Linked DNA regions of Homo sapiens: region 1 is linked to region 2. The links are contacts of gene promoters, found by promoter capture Hi-C in human tissues and cell types (Jung and others, 2019). All regions are on one chromosome and are shown on one strand. The core of a region is centred on a gene start or on the middle of the fragment in contact, and the rest is flanking DNA. Distances in the headings are between cores, read along the strand shown.

What was found. Contacts are between HindIII fragments. The study calls those that stand out against the background at their distance.
Region 1: a fragment that was not itself captured here is called in contact with the fragment with the promoter of ZFP37 in region 2 in 2 of the 25 tissues and cell types used here (IMR-90 fibroblasts and heart right ventricle).

The regions. Positions count from the first base shown.
Region 1 is chr9:112,978,736-112,984,148 of GRCh38, forward strand. No RefSeq gene overlaps it. Among named protein-coding and RNA genes, the nearest start is that of ZNF883, 31 kb to the right of the region's middle. The HindIII fragment of the contact is 5,184 bases long and covers 328-5,413 here.
Region 2 is chr9:113,052,991-113,058,272 of GRCh38, forward strand. ZFP37 (ZFP37 zinc finger protein) reads right to left here and starts at 3,734. Exons shown (of 4, transcript NM_003408.3): 1 at 3,567-3,734. The coding sequence starts at 3,698. RefSeq lists an enhancer at 3,365-3,934. The HindIII fragment of the contact is 44,168 bases long and covers 1-5,282 here.

The DNA.
Region 1 (5,413 bases), core at 1,670-4,169, 75 kb before region 2:
CTGGGTGGAGCCAGAACACTTGTAAGTGGGGCATAGTTGGCTTCTGGTGCGACTTGAAGCCTGGTCTAATTATTTCACCAAACTAAGATGGTGATGTCAGCATCCCACTCACTCTTTTCTGTCCCTCTCTCTGCACCCCACTTCCAGCAGAAGACAAGAAATAACTAAGATCAGAGCAGAACTGAAGGAGATAGAGACATGAAAATCCCTTCAAAAAATCAATGAATCCAGGAGCTGGTTTTTTGAAAACATTAACAAAATAGACTGCTAGCCAGACTAATAAGGAGAGAAGAATCAAATAGACACAATAAAAAATGATAAAAAGGATATCACCACTGATCCCACAGAAATACAAACTAACATCAGAGAATACTACAAACACCTCTACACAAATAAACTAGAAAATCTAGAAGAAATGGATAAATTCCTGGACACATGCACCCTCCCAAGGCTAAACCAGGAAGAAATCGAATCCCTGAATAGACCAATAAAAGTTCTGAAATTGAGGCAGTAACTAATGGCCTACCAACTAAAAAAAGCCCAGGACCAGATGGATTCACAGCCAAATTCTACCAGAGGTACAAAGATGAGCTGGTACCATTCCTTCTAAAACTATTCCAAACAATAGAAAAAGAGGGACTCCTCCATAACTCATTTTATAAGACCAGCATCATCCTGATACCAAAACCTGGCAGAGACACAACAAAAAAAGAAAATTTCAGGCCAATATCCCTAATAAACATCGATGCAAAAATCCTCAATGAAATACTGGCAAGCCAAATATAGCAGCAGATTAAAAACCTTATCCACCACGATCAAGTCAGCTTCATCCCTGGGATGCAAGGCTGTTTCAACATATGCAAATCAATAAACATAATCCGTCACATAAACAGAACCAATGACAAAAACCACATGATTATCTCAATAGATGCAGAAAAGGCCTTCAATAAAATTCAACACCCCTTCATCCTAAAAACACTCAATAAACTAGCTATTGATGGAACGTATCTCAAAATAATAAGAGCTATTTATGACAAACCCACAGCCAATATCATACTGAATGGGCAAAAGCTGGAAGCATTCCCTTTGAAAACTGGCACAAGGATGCCCTCTCTTACCACTCCTATTCAACGTAGTATTGGAAGTCCTGGCCAGGGCCATCAGGCAAGAGAAAGAAATAAAGGATATTCAAATAGGAAGAGAGGAAGTCAAATTATCTCTGTTTGCAGATGGCATAATTGTATATTTAGAAAACCCCATGGTCTCAGCCCAAAAACTCCTAAAGCTGATAAGCAAAGTCTCAGGATACAAAATCAATGTGCAAAAATCACAACCATTCCTATACACCAATAATAGAGAGCCAAATCATGAGTAAACTCCCATTCACAAGTGCTACAAAGAGAATAAAATACCTAGGAATACAACTTACAAGGGATGTGAAGGACCACTTCAAGGAGAACTACAAACCACTGCTCAAGGAAATAAGAGAGAATACAAACAAATGGAAAAACATTCCATGCTAATGGATAGGAAGAATCAATATTGTGATAATGGCCATACTGCCCAAAGTAATTTATAGATTCAATGCTATTCCCATCAAGCTACCATTGACTTTCTTCACAGAACTAGGAAAAACTACTTTAAATTTCATATGGAATCAAAAAAGAGCCCATATAGCCAAGACAATCCTAAGCAAAAACAACAAAGCTGGAGGCATCACACTACCTGACTTCAAACTATACTACAAGCCTACAGTAACCAAAACAGCATGGTTCTGGTACCAAAACAGATATATAGACCAATGGAACAGAACAGAGGCGTCAGAAATAACACCACACATCTACAACCATCTGATCTTCAACAAACCTTAACAAAAACAAGCTATGGGGAAAGAATACCCTATTTAATAAATGGTGTTGGGAAAACTGGCTAGCCATATGCAGAAAACTGAAACTGGACCCCTTCCTTACACCTTATACAAAAATTAACTCAAGATGGATTAAAGATTTAAACATAAGACCTAAAACCATAAATACCCTAGAAGAAAACCTAGGCAATACCATTCAGGACACAGGCATGGGCAAAAACTTCATGACTAAAACACAAGAAGCAATTGCAACAAAAGCCAAAAATGACAAATAGGATCCAATTAAAGAGCTTCTGCACAGCAAAAGAAACTATCATCAGAGTGAAGAGGCAACCTACAGAGTGGGAGAAAACTTTTGCAATCTATCCATCTGACAAAGGGCTAATGTCCAGAATCTACAAGGAATTTAAACAAATCTATAAGAAAAAAAAGCAACCCCATCAAAAAGTGGGCAAAGGATATGAACAGACACTGTTCAAAAGAAGATATTTATGTGGCCAACAAACATATGAAAAAAAGCTCATCATCACTGGTCATTAGAGAAATGCAAATCAAAACCACGAGATACCATCTCACACCAGTTAGGATGGCGATCATAAAAAGTCAGGAAACAACAGATGCTGGAGGGGATGTGGAGAAATAGGATCGCTTTTACACTGTTGGTGGGAGTGTAAATTAGTTCAACCATTGTGGAAGACAGTGTGGCGATTCCTCAAGGATCTAGAACTAGAAATACCATTTGACCCAGCAATCCCATTACCGGATATACACCCAAAGGATTATAAATCATTCTACTATAAAGACATATTCACACATACGTTTATTGCAGTAGTATTCACAATAGCAAAGACTTGGAACCAACCCAAATGCCCATCAATGACAGACTGGATAAAGAAAATGTGGCACATATACACCACGGAACACTGTGCAGCCATAAAAAAGAAAGTTCATGTCCTTTGCAGGGACATGGATGGAGCTGGAAACCATCATTCTCAGCAAACTAACACAGGAACAGAAGACCAAACACCGTATGTTCTCACTCATAAGTGGGAGTTGAACAATGAGAACATATGGGCACAGGGAGGGGAACATCACACAACAGGGCCTGTCGGGGGGTGGGGGGACAAGGGGAGGGGATAGCATTAGGAGAAATACCTAATGTAGATGACAGGTTGATGGGTGCAGCAAACCACCATGGCACATGTATACCTATGTAACCTGCATGTTCTGCACATGTATGCCAGAACTTAAAGTATAATTTTAAAAAATTAAAAATAAAGGTGAAAATCCATATGATTATTTCAATAGATATAGACAAAGCATTTGAGGAAATTTAACATGAAATTCTCAGCAAAGTAGAACTAGAAAAACTTCCTCAATCTCATAAATGGCATCTACCCACATATACATGTATGTATGTTTAACCTGTCGATCTATTAAAATGAGGGACCCAAAGACCAGGCAGTAGCCATAGCTTCATGGTCAGTGGAACTCCTGCCCTAAGAAACAGAACCTTTAAACTAGCACAGCCTAAGTTTATGGGAAAAGAAAGATTAGTGGGACTCTGGAAATAACGGTGAGAAAAGCCAATTCTACTTTCACCCTTGGTTACTGGACCTGTGTATAATAGCTACTGGGGATAGAGAACAATTTGTTAGGCAATAGCTTCAATATATGTACCACAACTTGGACAAGAGCACCCTAACCCTGAATGGTGTCATTCCTAAACTGGTGCCTTAGATGAGTCTTCGTTTTTTTGAGACAGGGTCTCATTCTGTTGCCCAGGCTGGAGGGCAGTGGTGCAATCACAGCTCACTGCAGCATCGACCTTCTGGGCTCATGTGATCCTCTCACCGCAGCCTCCCGAGTAACTGGTACTACAGGCACATGCTAGCAAGCCAGCTAATTTGGGTATCTTTTGTGGAGATGGGGTTTCATCGTGTTCTCAGGCTGGTCTTGAATTCCTGAGCTCAAGCGATCCTCCTACCTCAGCCTCCCAAAGTGCAGGAATTACAGGTATGAGGCACCAGCCTTTAGCTTAGTCTTAAAGAAGCCATTTCAAAATTAGTATGTCAACTTCTAGGTGATATGGTATATGGTAAGACCTGTAGATCTCATGATCTACTCATGTGTATGATCTCATGATCATACACACACTGTCATACATCCTTCACTGTAAAATGGGTACATTGGTCTGAAGCAATGTTTTGCAGGCTCCCACATTCATAAATTAGCCACTCAGTAAGCTCCTCAAATAGTGATACAGTCAGTCACTGAAGAAGGTGAAGGTAAACCCACCTCCAGTGTAGTTGCCAGTTCCAGCAAGAACAAATCAGTGCTTCTTCCTAAATAAAAAGCGTCCATTTTAATCAACTTGCCACCATATGGCTGGCTGATCTCCTAAAGGATGTTACCACACAGAGGCTTACAGTCAGTTTCTGCAGCTGAAGCTTCAGTCATTCAACAATAACAATAGCTGAATGAGCCTTGGTGATAAAGAGACCATGTTGTTGGGCCCATGTAACACCTACATCCCTGCAATCATGGTTTCTTAATTCATGAGCCCATTGCACAGAACCATGGTAGCAAAAGACAGACTGGCTCCTTGTATACTTGTTTAATGCCCATTTTTCATAAGATTCTCTCTACAACACAAACTTTTTCAGCCTGTGCGCAATCCCATAGATCCATTTACATGCCTCTTACCTAGACTTCCTTATCTACAGTATCCCAATTATTAATCCTTTCATGTCTCTGCCCAACCAGCCAAGCCATTTGCCACTGTCTTAGTCCATTTTGTGCTGCTATAACAATACCTGAGACTGGGTAATTTATAAGGAACAGAAATTTATTTTACACAGTTCTAGAGGCTGAGAAGTCCAAGGTGATGGCAGGTTTTGGTGTCTGGAAAGGGCCCAGTCTCTGCTTCTAAGATGGCACCTTGAACACTGCATCCTCTTGAGGAGTGGGAGGAACACTGTTCCTCACATGGCAGAAAAGCAGAAAAGAGCAAATCCATTCCATTTTATAGTGGCATTCCATTCATGAAGGGTGAAGTCCTCAGTCCTCATGACCTAAACACCTCCCATTAGGCCTCACCTCCCAACACTTTTGCATTGGGGATTAAGTTTCAACATGAGTTGAAACTTTTTTTTTTTTTTTTTTGAGACAGTCTTTGTCTATCACTCAGGCTGGAGTGCAGTGTGCAATCTTGGCTCACTGCAACCTCCTCCTCTCGGGTTCATGCAATTCTTGTGCCTCAGCCTCCCAAGTAGCTGGGATCACAGGTGTGTGTCACCATGCCTGGCTGATTTTTGTATTTTTAGTAGACATGGGGTTTCACCATGTTGCCCAGGCTGGTCTCGAACTCCTGACCTCAAGTGATCCACCCGTCTTGGCCTCCCAAAGTGCTGGGATTACAGGCATGAGCCACCATGCCCGGCCCGTTCAAACATTCAAACCATAGCAGCCCTGCTTAGGAATCCTTGTAAAGCCTCATATCAGACCACCTCTTCCTGCATGTGAAGTGGAAGATCAAGTATAGTG
Region 2 (5,282 bases), core at 2,484-4,983:
TCCGTATCAACGTGGAAGAGCCATTCAACACCCTTGCCTCTCTTTTTCATGAGGTCAGCAACCTCTTCTTCCACTCAAATTCAGCCACCTATTCATCAATTATCTGCACTTACACCTTGCCATCACTGTACCACCTGCAAAAATCTCTAAGACATTCCGCCCTCTGACCATCATTTCCTATCCTGCTACTTTTTCTAGTACTTTCACTCCAATAATTCTCCAAACTCATTGAGCCCTCTGATCCTAACCACTTTTTCACAATCTTCCACCTTTACCTAGCCTTTCTTTCTTGTTCAGATTCCTTGTTCTAGCACCATACACAATCAATTAAAAACTATAAAGTTTTAACTTCCTTGATTCTCTTCTTCTCCACTGTACTCACCTGTCAAAGCCTCAACCTTGGTTAAATCCAACTCTCCTCTTAATCTCTGCCTGAAACCTTGCAACTGAACATTGCAAGAGAAAAATCAAACTGCTGAGTGGACTAACTTCAAATTTATAACACACATGCCAAATGGACACCTAATCCTGTCAGTAGTCCTACTACCTAACCCTAGAAAATACACCTTTCCTTTTTCCTAGGTGATTATTTTGAACATTCTCCTTTTTAACTCTGAAAACTCCAACATCTACTCCTTTCCCACTCTTGGCTGATGAATTTGCTTTATGCTTTCAAGAGAAAATAAATCCAAATGGACAAGAATTACCCTGTCTTGTTACCACCAATTCCAGCAACCTGTTTCCAAACTCATATACAATATACCTTCTCTTCTGTTAAAATGGAAAGTCTTCCTTCTCTCACCTAAGGCCAGTTTCTCCATTTGTGCTCTCAATCCCATCCCCAACTGCCTTCCCAAAGACTTCACTCCTGCAAGTACCTCTTTCTGTTTTGTAACATCTGTGTCTCCCTTTTATTTGGGTCATTCCCATTGACACACAGAGTTGTCTTAATATCATTCATCTAAAGAAAACCCCCTCTTGATTTCATATCCTATACAACGTCCATTTCTCTGCTTCCTTTACCAGCAGAACTCCTCATAACTGTTGCCTATACTTGCTGTTTCCACTTCATTACCTCTCATTCTTTCAACTCACTCTAACAGGATATTATCCCCTTAACTCCAATAAAAGAGTTCTAATCAATCAAAATAACCATTGAGCTACATACTGACAAAATCAAATGATCTCTAGTCCTGCTTTTAGGACTCAAAAGCATATATGACAATTGATTACTTCTATTGTCTTGAAAGGCTTTCTTCTCTATGCTACTTTGACACCCACTTGCACAGTTTTCCTCTTACTTCAATGGGCACCCCTTATTCTCTCTGTTGTTTTTTGTCTTCTACCAGACTTTTAAATGTCAGAGTGACCCAGCCCTCTGTCCCTGGCTCTCTTCTCTTCCCTATCTGTCTTCTCTTCCTAGGTGACCCGAGCCAATCTTAAGGCTTTAAATACCATCTTTATTGTGATGCATTTCAAAAATGGTTCCCTAGCTCACCCCTTTCCTAAGTTCCAGATTCATATATATAGTGGCTACCCAATATCTCTAGGTAGATGTGCAATGAGCATTTTGACACGGCCAAAATAGAGCCACTGACATCACCCCAGATCCCATTTCCATCCACCAAATCTAGTCTTTTCCACCATAACCCTTTCCATTCAGAAAATAGAATCACCATCCATCCGGTTCTTCAGGTTAAAAGTCTAGATGTAAATCTCGATTCTTCTCTTTCCTCATACTCCATATATCAATACATTAGTAAGTTCTATTGCTTATCTCCAGATGTATTCTGAATTTGATTTCATTTTGCTGCTACAACTCTATTCTAAATCACCATAATCTCTTGTCTTTGACTATTGCAAAAAGTTCCTAACTGACCTCCCTATATCTACCTACTCTTGCCCCTCTGCAGTCCGTCTTCCATGAGGTAGCCATGGTGATCTTTTCAAGGTGTCAGTCAGAACAGATCATTCCCCTGCTTAAACTCAATGGCTTCTCACTGCATCTAGAATAAAATCCAAATCCTTACACTAGCCAATAAAATCCTACATTATCTGATACCTTCCTACCACTATGATTCACAGCTTTCTACTTTCCCTCTGACTGTGCTCCAACAGCACTAATCTTCCTTCTCTTTTTTAAGCACACCAAGTTTACTCCTACCCCAGGTCCTTTGCAGTTGATGTTTATTTCTTCCTGAAACACTCTTTCTTCAGATCTCTGCATGGCTGCCTCCTTGTGATGATTTATGCCTCAACCCAACTGTCATTTGCTAAGGAAAGCTTTCCATGACTAACCTGGCTAAAGTCATGCACTCCCTACCCTCAATCACTCTGTACCACACCATCCTCTTTTACTTACTTCAGCACTTATTAGTGTCTGGAATAATTTTATTTGTTTATATTTTATGATATCTTTCATATTTCTATAATGTAAGTCATTGAGGGAGGGATTCTGGTTTTGTTTCCTGGTGTGTCTCCAGCATTTAAAACATTCCCTGGTTTTGAGGACAAAGCAGGGACTGCAAAACAACAACACCAAACAAATAAAATAAAAAATACCCCCTGGCATAAAATAAATGCTCATCTTACAGACTGTTCCTACTGTTCCTGCAAGTTTTCAATCACTGACACCCAAATACTCCCCAATCACTAACCTTCACAAACTTCTCCCAATTATGGATCTCTGCAAGTTCCCAACTATCACTCTCCACAGAACAATCATTAACCTCCACAGATCTCCAATCACTGACCACCAAAGAACCCTCAATCATTAAATGCAGCAATCCCCTCAAACTCCTGACCCCCTTAGACTTCTAGTCACAGAATCATAGAGGATCTTCAATCATTAATTCCTACTAATCACCTCATTACTCAAAGCACAGTTATTACTGCTAGACACCACCTAATTATTGACCTGCATACATCCCCAATTACCTTTTCTCCCCAGATGACATACAAATCATCTACCATCCCCAGAGACACCTCAACATTGACTCCCCAAACTCCAACAGTCATATTCCCCCCTCACTGGCCCCCCGATTCCTCCATTACCCACTGACCCTCAAAGATACTGCTAATCAAACTTCCACAGACATCACCGTCACTGACTCCCAAGCCCCAATCTCTGATGCTCCCAGATGCTCCCAATCACTGAATTTCCCAAATCCTAACACTGACCCTCTTTGATAACCCAGGCTCTAACCACCACAGGCACCCATAATCGCTGGCTCCCATAGACATCCCAAACCGCCAACCCCCACGGTCCTTCCCTATCTCTGACACATCACAAAGCCTCCATTTCTGATCTCCTTCCAAACTCCGACACTCGGTGACTGCCACAGACGCCTCCCCATCATTGTCTCTGCAGATCCCTCCTAATACTGATATCCTAAAGCCAAATCATTAACCCCACAGATAACTCAGAACACCGACCTCCCAAAAGACCATCTAGCATCGATTCCACCAATTCCCAAATCACCTATCGTCACAGACTACTCCAATCACTGCCCCGCAAGTACACCATCTCTGACCGCCAAAACACCCTGTCTCATCACAGCTCTCACCGCGGCGCTGGCCTCGGGCTCGGACACAGCCATCTCCAGTGGTCGCCCGGCCTCTTTGGTCGTTTCCGCACTTCTCCTCCGGTCCACGGTCTCTGGCTTTGTCAGAATCTGGACGCCGCTGGAGACCGACATGGCGGCTACCCGGAGGGCGGCCTTAGCGGGTCCGGCAGCCGCGATGGCGGCGCCCTTCGGTAATAGCGCACGGGCGCGGCCATCTTGGCAAACACTCAGCCGTACAGCGGAAGTGCGGGGACTTCTGGGACAATTAGATCGGGAGGTGGAAGCTGGCGAGGGCGTTACTTGCAGGATGCAGGAGTGATGCGATCAGAGCCAGCCGGAACCGAGTTCCGTTACGCACTACAGGACTGACCTGGGCCTGACAACCCACTGCCGGAGTTCGGATCGCATCACTGCCGGAAGATATTTTACAGAATTTGGAATTGCTTTTCCGAATACATGTCAGTGCGGCCAGCGGCTAGAAGTCCGGGAATCACAACGCTTAGTGCGGACTTTAGAAAGGCAGGATGCGAGAAATTGGAAGCATAACGGAGAAAAGCCTGATCGAACAAATAACATTATTTTATAGGGAGAGGACGTTAATCTTTGAGATATACGATAAATCTTTTCATATATAGTATAAGAACAATAAGAAAAACTGAAACAGAAACTTAAGTAAACACACCACTCCTCCGTGAGAGCCCGGGTTTGGTGAAGATATTTCACCAGAATAATCAAGCACTTGGAGAAATAATTCCTTAATGCGCCATTTCATGCATTAATTGCATTCATTGAATATGTGCAGGTTAGGTGCTGCGCTATGCAAGGTACTGGAAAAAGAGTGGAGAGGGGTAGGGATGATGTAAGTCCAGAGTCCAAAGGCCAGAAAACCAGGGTCTCCAATGTCAAAAGGCAGAAGATGAATGTCCCAGCTCAAGAAAAAAGAAAAGGTGGGAGGGAAGTGGGGATACTTAACGGGTTTTTAAAAAAAAAGAAAAGAAAGAAGGAATAAGACCTAGTATTTGATAGCACTACAGGTGTATATATCCAATAATAATTTAGTTGTACATTTCGAAATAACAAAGTATAAATGGATTGTAACACAGAAGATAAATGCTTGAGGGGATAGATACCCCATTTTCCATGATGTGATTATTGCACTGTGCATGCCTGTATCAAACTACTTCATGTACCCCATAAATATACTCACCTACTATGTACCCACAAAAGTTAAAGATTAAAAAAAAATAGAAAAGAGGATTCACCCTTCCTTTTCCTTTTTGTCCTTTCAGGCCCTCAGTGGATTAGGTGGTGGCCACCCACATTGGTGGGGGCTTTTTTATTCAGTTTGCTAATTCAAATGCTAATCTTTTCCCAGAAACACACTAACAAACCCAGAAACAATGTTTCACCAGTTTTCTGGGCATCCTTTAGCCCAGTCAAGTTGACCGATAAAATTAACCATCACCCTAACCATGATATACACAGACTTCCAGGTTACAGAATCTGTGAGATAATAGGTTTGTGATACTTTAATCCACTAAAGCTGGTGATAATTTGTTATCCAGCAATACTAAACTAAGGACTCAGTGAAGACTGAAAAATAATTGATGGCTTGAAATTACTCTTCACCTACTTAAGACACGGCCCCCTACACTGTGTTCCTGACAGAGTATTCTTTGAGCGTCACCTTTGTACGGATAGGCAATTGCTTTGTTT